Regions from separate parts of the Homo sapiens genome. Here region 2 is linked to region 1. Evidence: promoter capture Hi-C in 16 types of primary human blood cells and fetal thymus (Javierre and others, 2016). All regions are on one chromosome and are shown on one strand. Each heading gives the region's core, a stretch centred on a gene start or on the middle of the fragment in contact. The rest is flanking DNA. Distances are from core to core; before and after follow the strand shown.

What was found. Contacts are between HindIII fragments. The CHiCAGO score rates a contact against its expected background, and 5 or more counts as called.
Region 2: a contact is called between the fragment with the promoter of SPATA31H1 here and the fragment with the promoter of CCDC121 in region 1, in 1 of 17 cell types (endothelial precursors). The highest score is 5.4, in endothelial precursors.

What each region holds. Positions count from the first base shown.
Region 1 is chr2:27,627,681-27,632,413 of GRCh38, reverse strand. It overlaps CCDC121 (coiled-coil domain containing 121), which reads left to right and starts at 3,402. Exons shown (of 2, transcript NM_024584.5): 1 at 3,402-3,464; 2 at 4,497-4,733. The coding sequence starts at 4,615. GPN1 (GPN-loop GTPase 1) reads right to left here and starts at 3,364. Exons shown (of 14, transcript NM_007266.4): 1 at 3,245-3,364; 2 at 2,462-2,555; 3 at 1,348-1,387; 4 at 514-580. The coding sequence starts at 3,355. RefSeq lists enhancers at 3,120-3,219, 3,260-3,569, 3,630-3,689 and a silencer at 4,138-4,432. The HindIII fragment of the contact is 4,758 bases long and covers 2,748-4,733 here.
Region 2 is chr2:27,535,478-27,540,280 of GRCh38, reverse strand. SPATA31H1 (SPATA31 subfamily H member 1) reads right to left here and starts at 2,895. Exons shown (of 5, transcript NM_032266.5): 1 at 2,711-2,895. The coding sequence starts at 2,854. RefSeq lists an enhancer at 2,605-2,899. The HindIII fragment of the contact is 4,761 bases long and covers 1,836-4,803 here.

The DNA.
Region 1 (4,733 bases), core at 2,153-4,652:
GGATCTGAGAAGCTGAAGACTTTGATCTGTCAATGTCAAGTTGTTATCTCTTGTCAAAATGTTAACAGCCTGTCTCATGGCCTAACATCAGAGTATAAAAACCAGTGATTATAAAACACTCTTATGGAAGTAGGTGACAAAGAAAACCTAAAGAATGACAAATATTTATCACAAGTAAAATGCCCCATCATCTTTCCATTCCATGACTGCTAGTCCATCCCACTCCCAAATACCCCCATCCCAGCTTCGGGGTAATACCACAGGCAAAGAACAGGTCAAGAAAATAACCCAGGTCTTTTGGATTTTTATTAGCTGTCACAAATATTAAATTTGAAGTGTCTGACCATACTGATCACCTTCTCATAGTCTACTTCTCTGTCTGACAAAATGCCTACTTATTTTCTATATTTATGCTCAGGTTTGCTGCTCTTCTTTACCAATGTGATCAAGCTAAGGAATTTAAGAGTCACAGATTTTTACACAACCATATTAATATACTAAAGACAGATATACCTGATCAAATCTGGTAGCAAAGAGATTGAGTGAGGTCACTATGCCGCCATTGGGTCCAAGTCCATATCTAGACACCAAGTTGAGGACTGAAATCGCTTATAGATTAGATTATAAAGTTCATACCTAGGCTATCATTCACACAAACGGCATTATGAAATTAGTGTTCCATTAATGGATACTGGCAACCTAATCCTTGACTACCATACAAACTTAACCACACAGGGAAACAGTCATTATCAAGGTCTGGCTCACTCATTTGATTTAAGGAGTGGTCAGGCAAAATGAAGAAAGCAAAGTGACCAAAATGTAATACAGGTGCATCAGGCAGTGACAGCCCACTGGCATTGGTCATTAAGGCCACCTGTATAACACCTCCGGCTCTGATCCTCATAAATAAACCAAGCAATCTGCTGATTATGATTAGTCTTCCTACTTAGACTTGCCTACGGAGAGAGTACACATTTCATACAGCAATTTACTAAGAGTTAATCCAACTAAACTCACTCATTTCTGAGTTTCCCAGTCTAAAGAGGTGGTGACCAACAGATGATCCTCCAAGGCAAAATACTACCTTGTGGGACCCAGGTAGCTGTCAGTTATCCTATCATACTCTCTGCTCTTTAATTACAACAGCCTGCCATCTGGGGAGATGGTAAGAAAACTAAAATCTCAAGCTGAAATAGTATTTCTGATCACCTACCTCTCCCACAATCAGCTTCCATCCTTTTGCTTGTATATTTCACAAGGAAAAGGCAAAAACACTCTTTCAAGCCACAAAATACACAGACAAGAAGCCAGGAATGAGTCAAGACCAAAGTAGATGGAAAAGGATACTGTTTCATTACTTCTTTATACTTTACAGTATCACGAATATCTGAGGAGAAAAAAAAGAATTAACTGGAATGTAATACATACACATTCCCTACCACCAGGAAAGTAAAACTGGCCTTCTAGCCTTCTCCTGTCAGCATTCTCTTCTACCACCTCCACTTTCACACTGGTTTCCTTCCTTACAAAGAATAAATGCCAAGTAAATCATGAAGAATGTTAGGGCTAGGAGCTCTAAAGTTGTGGCAAAGAGTTTTGTCTCCACAAAGTGCAAAGTTTCATGCAACTTAAACATGCCTAGAAAAAGGGAGGCAAAAATCAAGGGGGAAAAAATGCTTCTTACTAATTGCCTATTACTGACAAAGGCAACACAATGGCAATGCAGACATGATTTTTTAAAAGGAGTTAGGCTGGGCACAGTGGCTCACACCTATAATCCCAGCACTTTGGGAGGCCAAGGCAGGAGGATTACTTGAGCCCAGGAGTTCAAGACCAGCCTGGGCAACATAGAGAGGCCTTGTCTCTCCAAACAAAACAAAACTAGCCCAGCATAGCGGCAGGAGGCTGAGGTGGGAGGATCACTTGAGCCTGGGATGTTGAGGCTGCAGTGACCTGTGAATCACGCCACTGCACTCTGGCCTGGGTGACAGAGACTCTGTCTAAAAAAAAAAAAAAAAAAAAAAAAACCTAAGCTGTTTAGGAATGCAAGCAAATCCAAAGGAAATGAAAGTAGATAGTTTAGAAAACATGAAAAAAGAAGGCACTGAAGACTGGCAGGCTGGAGGCTTTACAGAGTCTCACTCTATTGACCAGGCTGGAGTGCAGTGGCACGATCTTGGCTCACTGCAACCTCTGCCACCCGGGTTCAAGCAACTCTCCTGCCTCAGCCTCCCGAGTAGCTGGAATTACAGGTGCCTGCCACCGTGCCTGGCTAATTTTTTGTATTTTTAGTAGAGATGGAGTTTCACCATCTTGGCCAGGCTGGTCTTGAACTCCTGACCTCGTGATCTACCTGCCTCGGCCTCCCAAAGTGCTGAGATTACAGCCGTGAGCCACCACGCCTGGCCTTTTCCATTCTCTTTAAAGCACTGCACACAAGTTATGTTACTGGTTTACTCACCAATATTGGCAGGAAAGGGAACTTCATGTACTGCTGGATCCAGGTTGATCACATACGGTGGAGTGCCTTGGGCATGCAGGTGTCCTGTGAGCCTCTGCAGAGATATGGGGAGAGGGTTGGAAGGAGACAAAGAGGGGACAAGAGAGAACTTCCATTCCTTTAACACCCATGCCTTAAGAATATTGCACTTAGATTTTCTTCTACCTGAAATATCCACCATGTCCACCTCCAAGATACAACTCTCAGTTCAAATGCTACCTTTCTTCATCACCCATCTAACAAAGCTTCCCCTACTCGTAGTCACTTGTTTACTTGTTTTGATTCTTCGTATGTGGGTTTTCTCTATCTCCTCCATTAAATATTTGGCCCCACGAATGAATCTTGTCAACCTCATTTTCGCTATATCCCCAGTGAATGGAACATGACAGGCGTGCAAGAAATATTTGGCAAATCTTCACCAAAACCTGTGTGCTAGCACTGTATTAATCTTTAAAGTTACTTGTAACTTGCCTCCGAGAAACGCAATTTTATCAGCAAGACAATTCCTGTACAACGTGGTAAGCTGGACCGAGTATGCCCTGAAGGTGCGCAGAAGAGAGCCTTAATTAACCTGGCTAGGGCCCGAGGAGGCTTTGCCGGGGAAGGAACTAAAGTTGATGGGAAGCCCCCGAAAGCCATGCGCCGGTACCCTCCAAATCCTCTTCCCTCCCTTTCTTCCTGGCCTTCCGCCTGCCGGAGGCAACCTTTTGCGCTCCCCTACTACACCCATGCTGTGTACGTCACCTGTACAAAAGTGGTTTTCCCGGATCCCGCCATTCCCAACACCAACAGACACACTGGGTGCCGCGGACCCCCAGAAGCCTGGAGCTCAGCGGCAGCTGCGGACGCCGCCATCTTCCTCCTGGCCCCACCCACCCGACCATAGAGACACCGCATGGGTAGAGAAACTTCCGCAATGTTCTGGGCTGCGAACGAAAACCACCACAGCGTCAGAAAGGAGCGGGTGAGGGGCGCGGCGGTTGCCAGGGCATCTTCTTAGCGTCGGGCAGGGCTGATGAGTCAACTAGTGACAGTGGCGAGGAAGTGGGGGCGCTGAGCAAGCGAGAGGAAGGCTGAAGGGAGCTAGGAAAAGGGCGCTGATCTCTGCAGCCTGGGAGGGCTTTTGTCTCCCGGAGGAAGGCCAGAAGAGATGGGGTCCCGAGGGCAGGGCTCACACAGCAAGAAAACGAGGAGCATGCCTGTCATTTTGAGCCCACAGAGAACGGGGAGCGGAGCCACTGGAGGACCGGCTGCTCGGGCTTATTCGGTAGCCGAGGCGGTTAAACAGTTCAGGGCTGGACCAGCCGGGACTGGAGCAGGGTGCAGTCTCCAGGGTTGCTGGGCAGCACCGAGACCCTTTGAGCACCGAACGAATAAACTACGGGAGCTTTCCACACTTGCACATTGTTCCCGCGAGTTGCAGACGCAGGTTCCTGATGCTAGCGCTCATTCCTTGGCAGTCACCCTCAGTGAACTACACAGTTGCCGTGACCTTCAGGATGAATGCTTGGATTCCAGGTGCAAGTAGGTACTGGAGGGGAGCTTCCTCCCCTCCAGTCACTGAAGGTCCCTCAGAAACTCAGGAAAGATGATGAAAGAGCCTAGAAAATTATTTCTACTCCTGACCACCCAGTCTGTTTCTGTGACCCTTTGTAGCTGCAAACAGTGTTCAGTAAGTCATAAGATCTGGCTTTAATACCCAGGCTCTGCCACTTGCTAGTGGTGTGAGTCATGGGCAAGTCACTTAAACTCTCTGAACCTGTTTTCTCCTTTTTTAAAACTGAGGTAATACCTCCCAGGGTTGTAGTGAATGCACGTTGTAAATGACGAGCTACATTCCTCATCCTTTACCACTAGCTGGATTCCCCACACCTTGCATAATGTCTGGAACATTCTGGTGCTCAGAAATATTCTCTTGTATGAATGAAGGACAGTTGTGCACTTACTTCCTAAAGTTTCATTAACTGACAGAGGAATGTCTCGTTTGTTCTTTCAGGTTTGCTGAGGGCCCCAGAAGGCTCCTTCCACCGTATCATAGTCTAATAAATAATTTTGTCAAGCCAGAGAAGCTAACAAAGGTAGAGACAAGGCTTAAAGAAAAGATAGTGGCGGAAATGACGGATCTGAACAAGCATATAAAACAAGCTCAAACCCAGCGGAAACAGCTACTGGAGGAATCCAGGGAGCTACACCGAGAAAAGTTACTTGTCCAGGCTGAAAACAGATTCTTTCT
Region 2 (4,803 bases), core at 1,646-4,145, 92 kb after region 1:
GGTGGGGGTCAGCCCCCCGCCCGGCCAGCCGCCCCGTCCGGGAGGTGAGGGGCGCCTCTGCCCGGCCGCCCCTACTGGGAAGTGAGGAGCCCCTCTGCCCGGCCAGCCGCCCCGTCCGGGAGGGAGGTGGGGGGGTCAGCCCCCCGCCCGGCCGGCCGCCCCGTCCGGGAGGTGAGGGGCGCCTCTGCCCGGCCGCCCCTACTGGGAAGTGAGGACCCCTCTGCCCGGCCAGCCGCCCCGTCCGGGAGGGAGGTGGGGGGGTCAGCCCCCCGCCCGGCCAGCCGCCCAGTCCGGGAGGGAGGTGGGGGGATCAGCCCCCCGCCTGGCCAGCCGCCCCGTCCGGGAGGGAGGTGGGGGGGTCAGCCCCCCGCCCGGCCAGCCGCCCCATCCGGGAGGGAGGTGGGGGGGATCAGCCCCACGCCTGGCCAGCCGCCCGGTCCGGGAGGTGAGGGGCGCCTCTGCCCGGCCGCCCCTACTGGGAAGTGAGGACCCCTCTGCCTGGCCAGCCGCCCCGTCCGGGGGCGGGGGGGGTCAGCCCCCCGCCCGGCCAGCCGCCCCATCCGGGAGGTGAGGGGCGCTTCTGCCCGGCCGCCCCTACTGGGAAGTGAGGAGCCCCTCTGCCCGGCCACGGCCCCGTCTGGGAGGTGTGCCCAGCGGCTCATTGGGGATGGGCCATGATGACAATGGCGGTTTTGTGGAATAGAAAGGCGGGAAGAGTGGGGAAAAAATTGAGAAATCGGATGGTTGCCGGGTCTGTGTGGATAGAAGTAGACATGGGAGACTTTTCATTTTGTTCTGTACTAAGAAAAATTCTTCTGCCTTGGGATCCTGTTGATCTGTGACCTTATCCCCAACCCTGTGCTCTCTGAAACATGTGCTGTGTCCACTCAGGGTTAAATGGATTAAGGGCGGTGCAAGATGTGCTTTGTTAAACAGATGCTTGAAGGCAGCATGCTCGTTAAGAGTCATCACCACTCCCTAATCTTAAGTACCCAGGGACACAAACACTGCGGAAGGCCGGAAGGCCGCAGGGTCCTCTGGCTAGGAAAACCAGAGACCTTTGTTCACTTGTTTATCTACTGACCTTCCCTCCACTATTGTCCTATGACCCTGCCAAATCCCCCTCTGCGAGAAACACCCAAGAATGATCAATTAAAAAAAAAAAAAAAAAAAAAAAAAGAAAATGATGATAATGTTTATAATTAACTCTTTGCATCAGGAAAAATAGACTCAGTCCCTTCTCCCTCCTTTGCAAGGGAGTCTTGCAACACCTTCCACATCCAAACATTCACCCCAATACCTCCTCCACTTTCACATCCCTGATAGCAGATATTTTTTTCTCTTCCACTTACTGCTGTATCAATAGTGCACAGAGGAGTGGAAATGGGGGTAGGAGCAGGTGATAAATACTTGGGGAATTAATTTATGTTCTCTTTTCCTTTTTTTTTTTGAGACAGAGTCTCGCTCTGTCACCCAGGCTGGAGTGCAATGGCGTGGTCTCAGCTCACTGCAACCTCTGCCTCCCAGGTTCAAGTGTTTCCCCTGCTTCAGCCTCCCCGGTAGCTAAGACTACAGGTGCACGCCACCACGCCTGGCTAATTTAGTATTTTTAGTAGAGACGGGGTTCCACCATGTTGGCCAGGCTGGTCTCGAACTCCTGACCTCAAGTGATCTGCCCACCTCTGCCTCCCAAAGTGCTGGGATTACAGGCGAGAGCCACCACGCCCGGCTACGTTCTCTTTTTCACCGTGCCACTCTGATATTTTTGTTTCCTCGCTTCTTCCCACTAAACCATGAAAATGGCCTAGCTATGCCAGAGAACTACCATATAAGCTTACTGGAGGTATTCAAAACCTCATTCTTACTGTGTGGCCCTCATTCCAAGGGCAGCAGCAGCATCTGGGAGCTTGCTAGAATTGTAGAAACTCAGTCCCTACCCCAGACTTACTACATCAGAATCTGCTTTTTAACAAGATCCCCCAGGTGATTCATATGCATGTTAAAGTTTAAGAAGTGCTCCTCAAAGCACAGATCTAAGCACATTTTTATCTGGCTTTAAAATCTTTGATGTCTTTCAAACTGCACAGAGTTGTATTTATACCAAGTATTCAGCCTGGCGTTCAAAGCTCTACAGTGTGACCTCTGTTAACTTGTCAATCTTTTCTCTCTCTGAGTCCCTACAGTCCTATGCTCCATCCAGATTGGTGACATCTCTCCTCAAACACATCCAATACGCTTCCCTTTCCCACATCTTTTTTCCAATGTATTCCCTCTTTTTTAAAAGGTTTCCACTGCCTTCCTCTATTCACTCCAACCACCTTCAAAATCCCACTCTTCCTCTGAAGCACACTCAAACCTGAGCTCTCCCAGGTGGTATTTTATAGAGCCCCCTAGTTCAAAATACTGTCTACCTCCCATGTCAGCAACATTTATACCTCTATTAACTCTTAATCACATTCTCTTTCCAGTTATGTGTATATCCATCTCCCCCACTTCACCTCGAGCTCCTAGAGAATGGCGATAGTCTCTAGGTCTGTTGAAATGAATTGAAGGAAAAAGGATTTATAGTGATCTATAGGAAGACTATCCATGGGCACTGTCTCAACTCCCCTCTCCCTGCATCCAGTTCCTCCCATGGCCCAAAGTATGGCAGTTTCTATGGCCTCAGGAGCGGGACCAGTTAGTTTCAAGGGAGGGCTACATCACATACCTCTGAGTTTATCTTGGCTGCCACCTGCTTCCAGCTCCGATTCCTGGAAAACAGTGTCCAAAGCCGCCAAATAAAAAAAACAAACAATAATAGAAGGCTGATATCTGATGGCAGTGGGACGTCCATCCCCCAAATTGGTGCCATTTCTCAACCCCATGCTCTTCTCAGCCAGAGTTTTCTGCCTCAAGGCTGTGACTTCATATGACATCACAATGGGCATCCCAAGGTAAATCTGACAGCATCCAGCCAATGTGCATGCTACTTAGCTCTCTTCTCTGAGCCATACCCAAAGTACAATCTGCTGCCCCTTCCTGCAGCTGTCCACAGGCTCCACTCTGACAGCCAAAGCTCAGGGAAGAACTCCTTTATGACTCTTCTAGGACTGGGCTAGACAGCTTGTCATTAAGTAGGGAGTATGTAGGCAAGGTTTTAAAGAAGCAGGCCTCCCAAGTGGCCTGTTCTGCCCTACAAGCATTTTCTCTGGAGCCAGTCACTCCCTGGAAGTCCAGATATGGTGTTAAATGCCCCAAACCACAAACTAGAATACAAAGTCAAGTAATTTTTATTTTTTTGAGATGGAATCTCACTCTGTCTCCAGGCTGGAGTGCAGTGGCACAATCTCAGCTCACTGCAACCTCCGCCTCACAGGTTCAAGCAATTCTCTGCCTCAGCCTCCCAAGTTGCTGGGATTACAGGCACGCGACACCACACCCAGCTAATTTTTGTATTTTTAGTAGAGACGGGGTTTCACCATGTTTGCCAGGCTAGTCTCGATCTCTTGACCTCGTGATCCACCCGCCTCAGCCTCCCAAAGTGCTGGGATTACAGGCGTGAGCCACCGCACCCGGCCAAGGTCAAGTAAATTTAAGAAAGCTAGGATATTTTAAGTAGGTACTCTCAGAAAATTTGAGATAAACGGTTTCCTAAGTCTAAGGCTTGACACATTTTCTAGCTGCTATTGCATTGAGATGGAAAAGAGATGTCAGAGAGGGAAATTAAATTACCTTAGAGGATCACTCTACCCCAGAATCTACAGTCTCATTTTCCAAGTCTAGAACATTTATTCCATCATGTCATCCAGACTTGACTGGATTCTCTAGGGCTAATTCACTATAAACAAAAAATGTACAAGGAATCAATTCATTCTATAACAAAGATTAATAAAACTGGCCAAGGCATTCTTTTTTCTTATAGGAAAGTTAATCTGGAAAAGCAACTCGATGAACTATTGAACAGCAGGTAATGTCTTAGAGGACAGATGAGGTATCTACCTCATAGAATTTTCAGCCTACAGGGGCAGCCTAAGCAATGTTCTAGAAAAGCCCATCAAGAAGAAAGTAGTTAAATAAATGTGCTATACCCATATTATGAATACTCTGTGGTCACTATACAGATTATAACGATAAAGAATAAGATATGGATATGTAATATGAGCTGAACACACATTAAGTGGCAAGTACTAGTTATATGCCAGCCTGGAGTTCTAAAAAAAGATTAGAACTGAAGACATAGTTTTGGGTTCTTAAAACATTATGTATATAATATATAAAACATATTTATATATTATATATATAGTTTGACAAGAACCTTTCTCTATATGGATATAAAAATGTATTCTTTGTGTCTTAAATATTTACTCACCATTATGTTTGAGATAGCCATCATATTTTGTATAGCTGTAATTCATCATTTTTTAATATTTCATTGTATTATATAACTATTCTATAACATATTTATCCATTATGGTATTGATGGATATTGGGCTTCTTTTCAGTGTTTGCTTATTATAAACAATGCTGTCAAAAACATCCTTGTCCATGCATCTTGGTAAACACAAGTTCCTAATTCTCTATGGCAGTAGTTCTCAAACTTTAAAATGCATTACAGTCATGTGGAGGGTTTATTATAAACCAGATTGCCGGGCCCTACACCTATAGTTGCTGGTTGAGTAGGTTTGGAGTGGAGCCCAAAGATTTGGCATTTCAAAGTTCCCAGGTGATGCTGATGCTGTTGATGCAGGGACCATACTTTGAGAATACCTGCTGTACAGTGTCTACCTAGGAATGGAATTGCTAAGTTATAGCGTATGTGTA